Linked DNA regions of Homo sapiens: region 1 is linked to region 2. The links are contacts of gene promoters, found by promoter capture Hi-C in blood cells and fetal thymus (Javierre and others, 2016). All regions are on one chromosome and are shown on one strand. Each heading gives the region's core, a stretch centred on a gene start or on the middle of the fragment in contact. The rest is flanking DNA. Distances are from core to core; before and after follow the strand shown.

Region 1 (5,955 bases), core at 2,836-5,335, 1.8 Mb after region 2:
TAGGACAATCTGCAATACCTGGAGACATCTGGGGTTGTCACAAACGACTAATGTACTGGCATTAGTGAACAGAGGCCAGGGAAGGCAGTAAACATTCGACAGTACACAGGACAGCCCTTACAACAAAGGATTATCCAGCCCGAAATGTCAATAGCACTGAGGCTGACACTGCCTGAAATAATGGGTCAGTAAAATGGCCAACAGCCTACAAGTAGAAAAAGAACCGTACAAGTAGCCTCAGCATCGCCCAAAGGAGAAACCATCACGGTCAAAGGACTCCAGTCTCTGGTTTTCTTAGTTGGTATGAATCTATCAACAAGAGAATTAGCAAAAGTTATGAGGAGCTGGAAAACACTGTCAAGTATATTCCCCTTCCAACTGGTTCCTTCCCAGGTGGTTCCATGCTTTTGCCTTCACCATGACTCATCCACAGAGGAAAAATGTTGGCTAAAGAATAAACGCCCATTCTTCTTGGCAAATACTGTTCTCATTTTTTATTAATAAATTGCATTCTAGCTCATATGCTTCAATATCATGAGGTTGGCTGATGGACATACTGTCCCTGAGAGAAGAATCCATTGACTCTCAAAACTAAGGTCAACTTTAGAATGAGATACCCAAAGAGAGGGATTGACTCTGAAGAACTAGGACTCAGTGGCAGCATTGACATCCCTGGATACCATGGCAACCCAGGGCACATCCATCTGCAGGACATACAGGAGTGAAGAGCCTCTCTGGACACCACTGCAGCATAGCTCCACATGGCATCCTGGCCTCAGAGGCTGGCAAGTCCAGTGAACCAACAAAAGAAGGAACTAACCAGTGCAGACATCATGGTGCAGGAGAAAGAAACAACGCAGTAAAACGAGTCAGAAAAGTTGGGTTTAAGGCTCAGATGCACTCTCTAAGTATGCTTGTGACATTTCATTCCTCCAAGCCACATCTGTAAAATGGGATAACAATACTATTCTGACTGTTCTCCATCATTTCCAAAACAGCATCCCCAGAGGAAGGGTGTGTCAGGCCACAGAGAAAAATGTCGCATTGATCCTATGACTCCACCTCCACTGAGAGAATGCTTTATAGGGCTTACCTGATTTTCATTCCCTCAAACCACCATTCCCTATCCAGAGTACAACCCACTGAACACATCTCAGTCCTTAGTCCAGCAAGTTGTGCCTCTCCAGTGTTTTCTACTGAGGAAAGTTTTGTTTTCTACCTTAACTGTTAGAACTAAAACAGTCAAAACTGTAGCCTCAATTCCTAAAATTGAAGTTCCAATAATAATTCTGTTCAGATTCTGGAAATCAGTGTTTGTGGGGGCCCGGAACACTGAGAATCGTCTCCTTCTATTTATACATGTGACTAATTTCTCGACTCAGCACTATGCCAGTTTGTTACTGTAGTTAATTCTGTTTGATGAGCTAGCATTCCTTCTCCCACACGTATTCCTATCTGATACTTAACTGTTCACCCCACCTTAGGCCAATGACCAAATTCTGCTCGTACCGTACCTGCACTTATATTGTAACAGGTTAGAAAATACAGCACTAAGACACAAGTAGTTAATGTAATCAGGAATCATGATATGGCTTTGCAGGCTTTAGTTCTGGCTAATATAGATAAGTTCCAATTGTTAACACTCAAACAACCCAAATTATCCAGGGAAATAAGCATTGCAACCAGTGTGTGCATTGTACATGCAGGCTGGCTTTGCTGAACCTAAAAATGCTGTGCTGGCATACTGGAAGGCTTTCATGGCCACACACATGGTCCTGGGAGCCACACCCTGTGGAATGACTGGCCTTCATGATCCTTTTATTATGGACAGTGCAGAAGTTCTCAGACTCTTTTTTTAAAGAGATGGGGTCTTTTTCTGTCCCCCAACCTGGAGCACCGTGGTGAGATCACAGCTCACTGCAGCCTCAGACTCCTGGACTCAAGCCATTCTCTTGCCTCAGCCTACCAAGTAGCTGGGACTACAGGTGCATGCCATCATACCCAGCTAATTTTTTAACTTTTGAGAGATGTGGTCTCGCTATGTTGCCCAGGCTGAGTTGTCAGCCTTTGACTTTCTTCTTTGGATAGCCAATCCAAGCCCAGGTCAGCTAAAATGCTTCACCTAATCATGCATCCCAGCAGTGTGGCTGCCTCCAGAAGAGATTACAACTGTCTTTGTAATTAGAATCATTCATGTGGGGAACACTAGATGTAAAATATGAAAGGAGAAGTTGAGCAGAGTAAATTTCCAAAGACCTCAAAAGTTCTAAACTAAAACTTGGTGAGAAAAGGGGATAGTCTGTCGATTTTATTCTAAGTAAGGTTAAAGAGTTATTGCAAAGGGAGCTACTGCCTTTCTGCATCACTAAAGTGAAAAGCATGTCACTTGAGTTTCTAGTTCCTCCAAGATGGCAGCATGAGGGCCTAGCGCACTGGCAAGTTCTACAAATAGTGGCATTTTTTTTTTTGAGATGGAGTCTTGCTCTGTCGCCCAGGCTGGAGTGCAGTGGCGCAATCTCAGCTCACTGTAAGCTCTGCCTCCCGGGTTCACTCAATTCTCCTACCTCAGCCTCCAGAGCAGCTGGGACTACAGGCACCCACTACCACGCCCGGCTAATTTTTTTTGTATTTTCAATAGAGACGGGGTTTCACCGCCTTAGCCAGGATGGTCTGGATCTCCTGACCTCGCAATCCACCCGCCTCGGACTCCCAAAGTGCTGGGATTAGAGGCGTGAGCCACCGCGCCCGGCCAATAGTAGCATTTTGAAAAGTTAAGTCAATAGCCGACAGAACTGCATCTGGTTCAACATTTGGAAATAGCATCTCCTGCAGGGGGTTAAACCAACAGTATTTTGTTAAAAGGAGATAGCTAAGTATTTCTTGTAGCCCTCTAGAACGTCGTCATCAGAATCCCTGGCAAGTTGGTTAAAAATGTAGTTTTCCCCAGAATTATTGAAACAGGCTTTTTAAAATCGTTACCTACACTGAGCAATACTTTGACATTAAGACTGGGTGTCTGTTTTATGAAATGCTGTTTTCCACACCACTCTTCTCTTTCACATTTTAAACTGCTGGTCTTGGCCTACTAAAGTGATATCATGATCCGCTCATGGGTTACAGCCGTAAGCTTAAAAAGCACTTCTCTGGTTGACTAGAAGGAACCAGAACTAAAGTTGCACAATTAGTAGCAAACACTCCAGGCTTTGTGATGCAGAGAGGGTTTCTTAATCCACCACGTTTTCCAGATTCAACAGAATGTCTTATAAACCAAACTATCTACTTGGATGGTTTCAGGCACCAAAAAGTGGTTACAAGCTTGAGTTACAAACCTTAATTGTATCCACTGTCTTAGATCTGGAAGGGAAATGTTACCTCCATAGGAATGATCACCTTTAACCCTTGAGCATTAGGCAACCTGATGAAGTAAGCACAGTGTGTGATCAGGTGAGCTCCTTGCCTCACCCCCAGCCACATCCTTCAGCAAAGGCTTCAAAGCCCTTTCCCCACCCGCCCCACCCACTCACACCAAACACCCAAAGGGGTTAAATTACTTTGAAACACTCAAGAGTTAGCTTCTTTTCAATATAGTAATTTAGTAAATGTTCAAGACTTAGCTGCACCTGCAGAACACCTTAATGTTTTCTCACTTTTATTTTTCTTCTCCTAGGCATTTCTCATCTCCCCTGCATCTGCCACACAGCCTCCCTTACAGCCTCCTGTCTTCACTTCCATATTGTAGGAGAGCAGAATGGGACACAGTAGATGCCTCTGACTTCAATCCCCTTACAATCATGCCCTTCCTCCTAGGCTAAAGCAACACAGACTTCTTTAAAAGACCTTCTCCAAGGAGAGTGATGAAACACCAGATCTGGAATGGTTATGTGTCATTAAGTGTACTGGTTATCTAATCTCCCAAGGAATCACCTCTCTGTTCCTTTCTTCAGGCAGAAAAAGGGAGGAGTCTACTCAAGGCAGAACAGAGTCTAAAAGAAGAGTGGCCTGGCATGGGGGAAAGGACAGCGAAAAAAGCAAAAGCCCATTACCTGGGCTTCTCACTTGCACTAATGCTGCAACATTTTCCTGGTATATTTCCCTGGTGGATCTCTCCCAGTATAGCCACCTCTCATTTAGTCAGTCAACAAACACTTATTGAGCACCGACATCATGCTAAGAATCCATCCAGGTTCTGGAGCTGTAAACAAGACAAGGTAGTCACTACCCTCATGGAACTTCTGCTCTAACAGGGAGAGAGACAATACTCAAAATACACCAATGACTGTATAATGCCAGGGAGTAAAAGGTACTAAGACAAAAAACTGAGTAACATAAGAGGCCCAGGGAGTGTCTGGCTGCTATTTTATATGGGGTAGCCAGGGAAGGCCCCCTATAAGCTGACAACTGGACAGAGACCTGAAAGAAGCAGGGGAAGTGAGTCATCTGGACATGTGGGAGAAAAGCTCCTCCTGTAATATCATGGGCAAAGGCCCTAGGGAGAGAACTCAGTGAAAAAGAAGAATGTAAGACGGTGAGGGTGCCTGCAGTTACCAAGGACAGTAAGCATGACCATCACTAGAACTGCCCATCTTCTTGCCCAATGACTGCTCCAGGCCCTGAGTTTCCCCAGACTCCCATCCGGGTCTGCCTCCGAGCCTGCCCCTCCCTGATACCTACCATACTTCTTGTTCTCCAGTTCAGTACCCTCCTGACACAACCCCTCCCCAAGAGTCCCAGCAGTCCAGGTCATTTTCTCAAAATTTACCAACCTAATAAAAACAAACAAAACAGAGTAGAAACAAGGCAGCATGCACATTTAACCACAGCCTTCCAGAGATAGGAAATGTACAATAATAAAGAGTAAAGCTTCAAAAGGTCAGCTATAAGAAAAATTAAAAATATGTGATGTTTCTGCAGGGGATCTGGCCTCCTAACTTACCATTATTTTCCCCCAGATCTGTAAATTATGGGACATTAATGCTTGAAACAACCTTGGAAAGTAGGCATGGAGGTGAGATAATATGAGAACCCTGGCCAGAGGAGACCCCAATAATAGCTGCTGCCGGTTTTTGCAATCTCAAAGTGATTCTGAGAAGGATTATATCCCTCTATGTCCCAAAGTTGCTCGCAGGGTTTTGGTGTGTAAATACAGGTCATTAATTACTTTTATAGAAGCAAAAGAGAAACACTCAGATATTCTTCCATAGCTTCATCCCCAAGTCACTGGCAGCGCCCAACAGGAAGCCTCCGCTTCTGGAGGCCTCAACCCGTCTTAGATTATCTGAAATCTTAACCATAACGAATTAGGCCCGAATCATTCAAGGCCAGCGGTGTTGGGAAGCCCATGATCCAGCGCGGGGGGCATCCCAAATATATTCACTGAGTCTCGGGAGCCGTCCAGGGACTCTCAGAGCTGGGTCACTACCTGGGACCAAGCCTGAGGCTGGTCCTTTAGGTCAAGGCAGGTCCCGACCCGCCTCCAACTTCAAATGGCCCCCTAGGCGGGAGAGGGTCACTGGGCGGGGAGTTCCTGGCTGTGCGGTCACACACACACACACCGACTCACACACACACCCACAACACCCCCCCCACACACACACACTCACACACACACCGACGACACACCACACACACATACATACGCGCGCGCGCACACACCACACACACACACACACACACACACACACACACACGCCGCCTCGCGCGCGCTCGCGGCACAGCACCGACTTCCCAACCCCAAACACACGCGCGCACCCCCGGGACAGCTGAGTTCTGTATTTCCTCTTCCTCAAAGCGACTCCGGCGATCGCAGTCGCCACTCTCCGCTCCGATTCCCGGGCCCCCTGGCATGCCGCCGCCCCCTTCTCTGAAGGCGCGCCCGGTGCGTCCCCTCTCCGAAGCCGAGATTTCCACGAAGCTCCACAAAGCTCCCCGCCGCCTCTCTCGGTCTCGGCGGAGACC
Region 2 (5,839 bases), core at 1,300-3,799:
CAAAAGATGTGAATAAACAGGGGCTCTAACTAGTTTAAGTACTTAAATTCCTCAGGGTTTTTTTTCCCTCCTACTAAAAATATTTGTATCACAAAGTACTGATAAACACAGCTAATGCCGATTAAGAGTTGTTTTTCTAAACCTCCTGTTTTTGCAATAACCGTCCTATTTCTGTGGTTCTTCTGCAAGTCTAAAAGCCTAACTAAACTTAATACTACAACACTGAAATGCTCATAATTCATTAATATCGTAATATAGATCAAGTGTCTTCCTTAACTTAGGTGCATAAAACAAGTGTTAAGTGTAGAAAGCATAGTTGCCTTCCAACAGATCCATGCTTAAATGTACCTGATGCCAAAAGTTATTTCCCACCCTAAAATCCGACCCTCTTTATTAAACAAAAGTTTTAGTAATTAAACACTACTTATTCAAGAATAAAAAATGTATACAGTGGAGAATGCGAAAGCCTCACTTTCATATACAGTACTCTACATGACGGTATACTTCTTTTCTAAACTATTCCAAGACTCCTTGATTACCAACCACGGCCTTTCAAATCTGACTTTGGGGACAGATGGAGCTGTACTGTCTATATTTTATTTATTATCTCTGCAATATCCAGTTATGATTCAGAATGGAACACAGAATGGAAAAGCCATATGAGAGGGATGCACCAAATGGTGGTGGGGTGGAGGGCAGTTCTCTTTTAAACTAATGTCCATGTATCCTCTACAGGAGAAAAATGTTGAAAGGGGTTGTGGTGAAAACGAATCTACAACTTATAATTCTTTGGTCCTTGAAACATATATAGTAACCTTGAAAGTATAATTTTTATAGGGGACACATACTTATTTCTAAGAAAAAAAAATCTTCAATTTCTGTTTAAGTTTCTGGGCCAAGTGTTGAAAGTAAAATGGAATTTTAGTGTAATAAGCAATAAAAGCTCTGATACGGGTTGTAGTGCTTTATCTTTTTTTTTTTTAAGAAAGGATATATCTCTCACTCGCATATTAGGTTGATGACTTTAAGTCCAAAGAAAGTAGTCCCTTTTCCATGCCTGCCAATTCTTTGAGACAGAGTCTCACTGTGCCACTCAGGCTGGAGGGCAGTGGTGCGATCTTGGCTCACTGCAACCTCCGCCTCCCGGGTTCAAGCGATTCTCCTGCCTCAGCCTCCTGAGTAGCTGGGATTACAAGCATGCGCCACCACGCCCAGCTAATTTTTGTATTTTCAGTAGACATAGGGTTTCACCATGTTGGTAAGGCTGGTCTCGAACTCCTGACCTCGTGATCCGCCCGCCTTGGCCTCCCAAAGTGCTGGGATTACAGGTGTGAGCCACCGCGCCCGGTCTTTGCCTGCCAATTCTTAAGTCCCTTGATATTTCTGCTTCCTCTTACTAATTAACTGAACCTCATCAGGAAAATATTAATGATGGTTCGAACACTCAGGAGACACAACCTCAGAACTCAAAATACCTCGCGGTCTACCAAAAGAGACCTATTTGATTCAAGACTGGAGGGGAGAAGCAGGAAAAAGGAGGGTACACGGCACGAAAAGCTGCTGGTCAGAGCAGCTGCCCCCAGCTTTTACACACTTACTGGTTTGCTAGGGTAAACGTTAGATAGATGCGTTTTTAGTTTCCCCACGGTCCAGTTCAAGAAGCAGCTAATAGTCTGGTCACTGTATTTCTGATTCGGTGCTTTAATGATGAGGGTCACAGGAATCTCCATCCCACTTTGGTCCATGGTGCCCCCAAAGTCAGACAGAGTCCAGAGGAGCGGCAGTTAAGCCCAAAAGAGCCGAGATGGTCACCGCCGGCGCGACTGGGATGAGGACAGAAGTGAGTTCTTAGTATTCCGTGTCCAAGTCAGTTACAAGTGCACTGGAGGATACGAAGCCCATTGCCGGTACCAAGGATGGACTGAGGTGGTGGCGACTGCGACGGTGGGGTCTGGGTGCCCGGCCGTGGAGGCAGCTCTCCCCGCCAGGTCCGGGCTCCGCCGGGCTCCGGACTGTGGAGGCCGTCGTGAGGAGAAAGGAAGCTATACGAAGGAAGGGTGGGAGGGATGAGGGCACAACGGCCGGCCCGGGGTCACTGCCCCGCCCCACCGCGACCCCCAAGCTGGAACGCAACAAGGCCCCTACGCCACGGCCCCGCGGTGCGGATCGGGGAAGCAGCTGGGCCGCTCAGGGCGGTCAGCGGGCACTGGGGTACCTGAGAGAAGGCCGCGGGGCCCGCCACCGCCGCCCTCCGCGCCCAGGCAGGGCCGCCAGCCACACCGTCCGGCCAGGCGTTTTCCGTGGCAGCCGCTCCCTTCCTGCTGCGCGGCGACCGGCACGGCCCAGCCCCGGGTCTCGCGAGGAGGCGCGGGTGAAAGGGAGAGAAGCTGACCGAAGGCGCGGCCCGGCTCTCCGCCTGACCCCTCAGTCTGGACAGCGCAGGGTGGCGGCAAGGCAGGGCTGGGCCGGGGGCGGCCCAGGCGACTACAGGTAGCAGGAGGGCGGGGACGAGAGCCGTTGCGCCACCGCTGGCGCGCCGGTTTTGTTGTTATTGCGAGGATTGTCTGGGGCCCCTTTAAGCCGGAACAGGCAGGGCGGAAGTGCGTCACCGGCGGCACGCCCCTGCACATGGACCTCCCCCGTCCCCGCCATCCCTGCCGATCCTGTTGCTGCCGCCTTCCCGCCGTGCTCGGGCTGCCCGGGACTCTAGCCGCCAGGCTTCGCGTCGCCCAGCGGCAGATCGGGCTCCTGGGAGCCTCTCCCCTGGCCGTTTGCTCGGCCTCGGCCCCAGCTGCCCTGGGGCCTAGCCACTAGCTCCCCTGGCGCTAGCCTACCCTGTCTTGACCGCACCCTGAAGATTTGGGAAGTCTTTCTCCATCCCAAGAGTCGTCTCTGCAAAAGTTGGTGTCCTTCCTGGTGCTGAACCACGCTTCTGCTCAAAATGTGTTGAGCGTCGTCTGTCTGCAAAGCACGGTGCCAGGAGCTTTGGTGGAGAAGGCATGGGGTACATGTGTAAAGAGTACAGGCTTTTGGTTAAACCTGAAGTCCTCCTCTACTTTCTGGGGGACCCTGGCCGTCCTTGCTGAGCCTCCGTTGACTTCTCTAATGGGGACGGTAATGCCTACCTGACCACAAGCTGATGAGTAAATGAGCTATGAGTGCAAAGTGTGGTGCAGTTCTGGCGTGTGCCAGCCTCTCAAGTGTCAGTTTCCGTCTCATTCCTCTTAATCTTCACTAAAATGGACAAGTATTCATTGAGCACCTAATGCGTGTTCAGTATGGTGGGAGATGAGGGATGACAGTATTATTTTTCTATTTTATAGGTTAGACATAGAACAAAAGGTTGAGTCTATTGCCCATAGCCGAACTTTTCTTCATTTTCTACTGTGGTTTAGAAGTCGGTATAGTAAGTTAAGGGTTGTTAGATGTGCATTTTCACAGCTCCCAGCTTCCACTTAGGAGTAGATAACATAGGGGACTTTGCGAGCTGGTCTCTTTCCCTCTTAGCTTCAGAAGGGCTTCGAGGTAGCCACCACTGAATTAGTTGAGAGACAAGGCACCCCTACGGAGGAAATCTCAACTGCACAACCCCTACTGTGCCCCAATTCAGCAGGAAGCAGTTAGAGCGGTGGTCAAACCTCCCCAATAGCACTTGGGTTTTCCTGTTGAGAGGGGGTACTGAGAGACAGGACTAGTTGGATTTCCTAGGCTGGCTAAGAATCCCTAAGCCTAGCTGGGAAATTGACCACGTCCACCTTTAAACACGGGGCTTGCAATTTAGCTCACACCCGACCAATCAGGTAGTAAAGAGAGCTCACTAAAATGCTAATTAGGGAAAAACAGGAGGTAAAGAAGTAGCCAATCATCTATCGCCTGAGAGCACAACAGGAGGGACAATGATCAGGATATAAACCCAGGCATTCAAGCCAGCGGTGGCTACCCTCTTTGGGTCCCCTCCCTTTGTATGGAAGCTCTGTTTTCACTCTATTAAATCTTGCAATTGCACACTTTTCTGGTACGTGTGTGTCACAGCTCAAGCTGAGCTTTCGCTCACCGTCCACCACTGCTGTCTGCCGCTGTCACAGACCCACAGCTGACTTCCATCCCTCTGGATCCAGCGAGGCGCCCATTGCTGCTCCTGATCGGGCTAAAGGCTTGCCCTTGTTCCTGCAGGGCTAAGTGCCCAGGTTCGTCCTAATCTAGCTAAACACTAGTCACTGGGTTCCACGATTCTCTTCCATGACCCACAGCTTCTAATAGAGCTATAACACTCGCCGCTTGGCCCAAGATTCCATTCCTTGGAATCCATGAGGCCAAGAACCCCAGGTCAGAGAACACAAGACTTGCCACCATCTCGGAAGTGGCCCGTCACCATCTTGGAAGCGACCTGCCACCATCTTGGGAACTTGGGGAGCAAGGACCCCCAGTAACATAGTGACCAGGAGGAAATTCTTCCTCTCAACAGCTAATGCAGCAGGATCTCTTACACCGTACCCTCCCTCACCTTGCTCTTGCTCTTCATGGTAGAACACGTACCATATCTTAGCTGTACTCTATCAACTGCGCATCTGAAGTAAAGAGTGAAGTCTTCTTTGTTTCCAGTCATGGAGCAACAACTTGCTATGATACTGGCCTTCTGTAGCTGACTCTTCTTTGTCTACCCAGGCACTCTAATGGAACTTTAATTCTAGCTAAAGTTATTTTCTCAGACTCCTTTGAAGCAAGGGGCAGCCATTTGACACACTTCAAGCCAATGAGTTGAATGTTGAACTTATTGCTGAGGCTTCTAAGAAAGCATATAGATGGAAGGGCTCTGCGAATCAGAGCTCATCTTTGCCCTACACCTGTCTTCCAGGAGGAACGTGAAGAGCTACAGCACTCATAGTTCAGTCATGAAACAACAAACAGGAGAACAATGGCCTGCATTCCAAGGATGGCAGAGCAGAAAACTGTAAAGAGGCTGGGCATTTGATGGCATTGTGGTGCCACCAGACAAGCCCTAAGCTATCTTCCCTAAGACTTCTTGTTTTGGGTCAAATTCCTGTTTAAGCCAGGAAGTTTTCACAACCTTCACCACCCAGTCCTGCAGCTGTTGTCTCATGCTTGTGACTCAGACTTCCAGGAATCCTTTAGAAGTGATGTGGTGATCTCGTTTGGCACTATGCAATGTACACTATTAATGAAGGTACCCTAATAATTATAAATATTAAGACAGAATGTGCATTTCACAGTGATTTAAACACTCTTTAACACTCTTTAAAACAGTCCATCAAAGGTTCGCTAACACAGAGAAAAACATTTAAAATTGTAATAAAGGCTGGGCGCAGTGGCTTGCCTCTAATCCCAGCACTTCAGGAGGCCGAGGCAGGCAGATTGCTTGAGCTCAGGACTTTAAGACCAGACTGGGCAACACGGAGAAACCCCGTCTCTACAAAAAAATTCAAAAATAAGCCGGGCGTGGTGGTGCACGCCTGTGTTCCCAGCTACTCTGAAGGCTGAGGTGGGAGGATTGCTTGAACCCAGAAGGTAGAGGTTGCAGTGAGCTGAGACCATACCATGCACTCCAGCCTGGGTGATAGAGTGAGACTCTGTCTCAAGAAAGAATAAAAAGTAAAAATAAAATTGTAATGAACATTCAAGAAATTGAAATATACGGGTACAAAGATGATATAGTATCAGAAAAAATGATTTTTTTTAAATTTTACAGCCACTTGAATTAAGTACCTAAAAATGCTTTTGATGCTGTTGAGCTTGGCTATGATAACAACAGTATGTAAATATTCCACTTTTGTTAAAATATGTATAAACAGGTATGTGTACAGAGCAGTGTATGAAAGGG

Evidence for each region. The method cuts DNA at HindIII sites, captures the fragments that hold promoters and counts their contacts. A CHiCAGO score of 5 or more calls a contact.
Region 1: a contact is called between a fragment that was not itself captured here and the fragment with the promoter of HERPUD2 in region 2, in 1 of 17 cell types (activated CD4 T cells). The highest score is 5.9, in activated CD4 T cells.

What each region holds. Positions count from the first base shown.
Region 1 is chr7:37,442,063-37,448,017 of GRCh38, forward strand. The region is part of intron 1 of ELMO1 (engulfment and cell motility 1); the gene reads right to left. Among named protein-coding and RNA genes, the nearest start is that of ELMO1, 3.8 kb to the right of the region's middle. The HindIII fragment of the contact is 1,545 bases long and covers 3,314-4,858 here.
Region 2 is chr7:35,692,586-35,698,424 of GRCh38, forward strand. It overlaps HERPUD2 (HERPUD family member 2), which reads right to left and starts at 2,550. Exons shown (of 9, transcript NM_022373.5): 1 at 2,216-2,550; 2 at 1,599-2,042. The coding sequence starts at 1,745. It overlaps HERPUD2-AS1 (HERPUD2 antisense RNA 1), which reads left to right and starts at 2,621. Exons shown (of 1, transcript NR_136255.1): 1 at 2,621-5,839. RefSeq lists an enhancer at 1,689-2,576 and a silencer at 2,019-2,428. The HindIII fragment of the contact is 10,108 bases long and covers 1-5,839 here.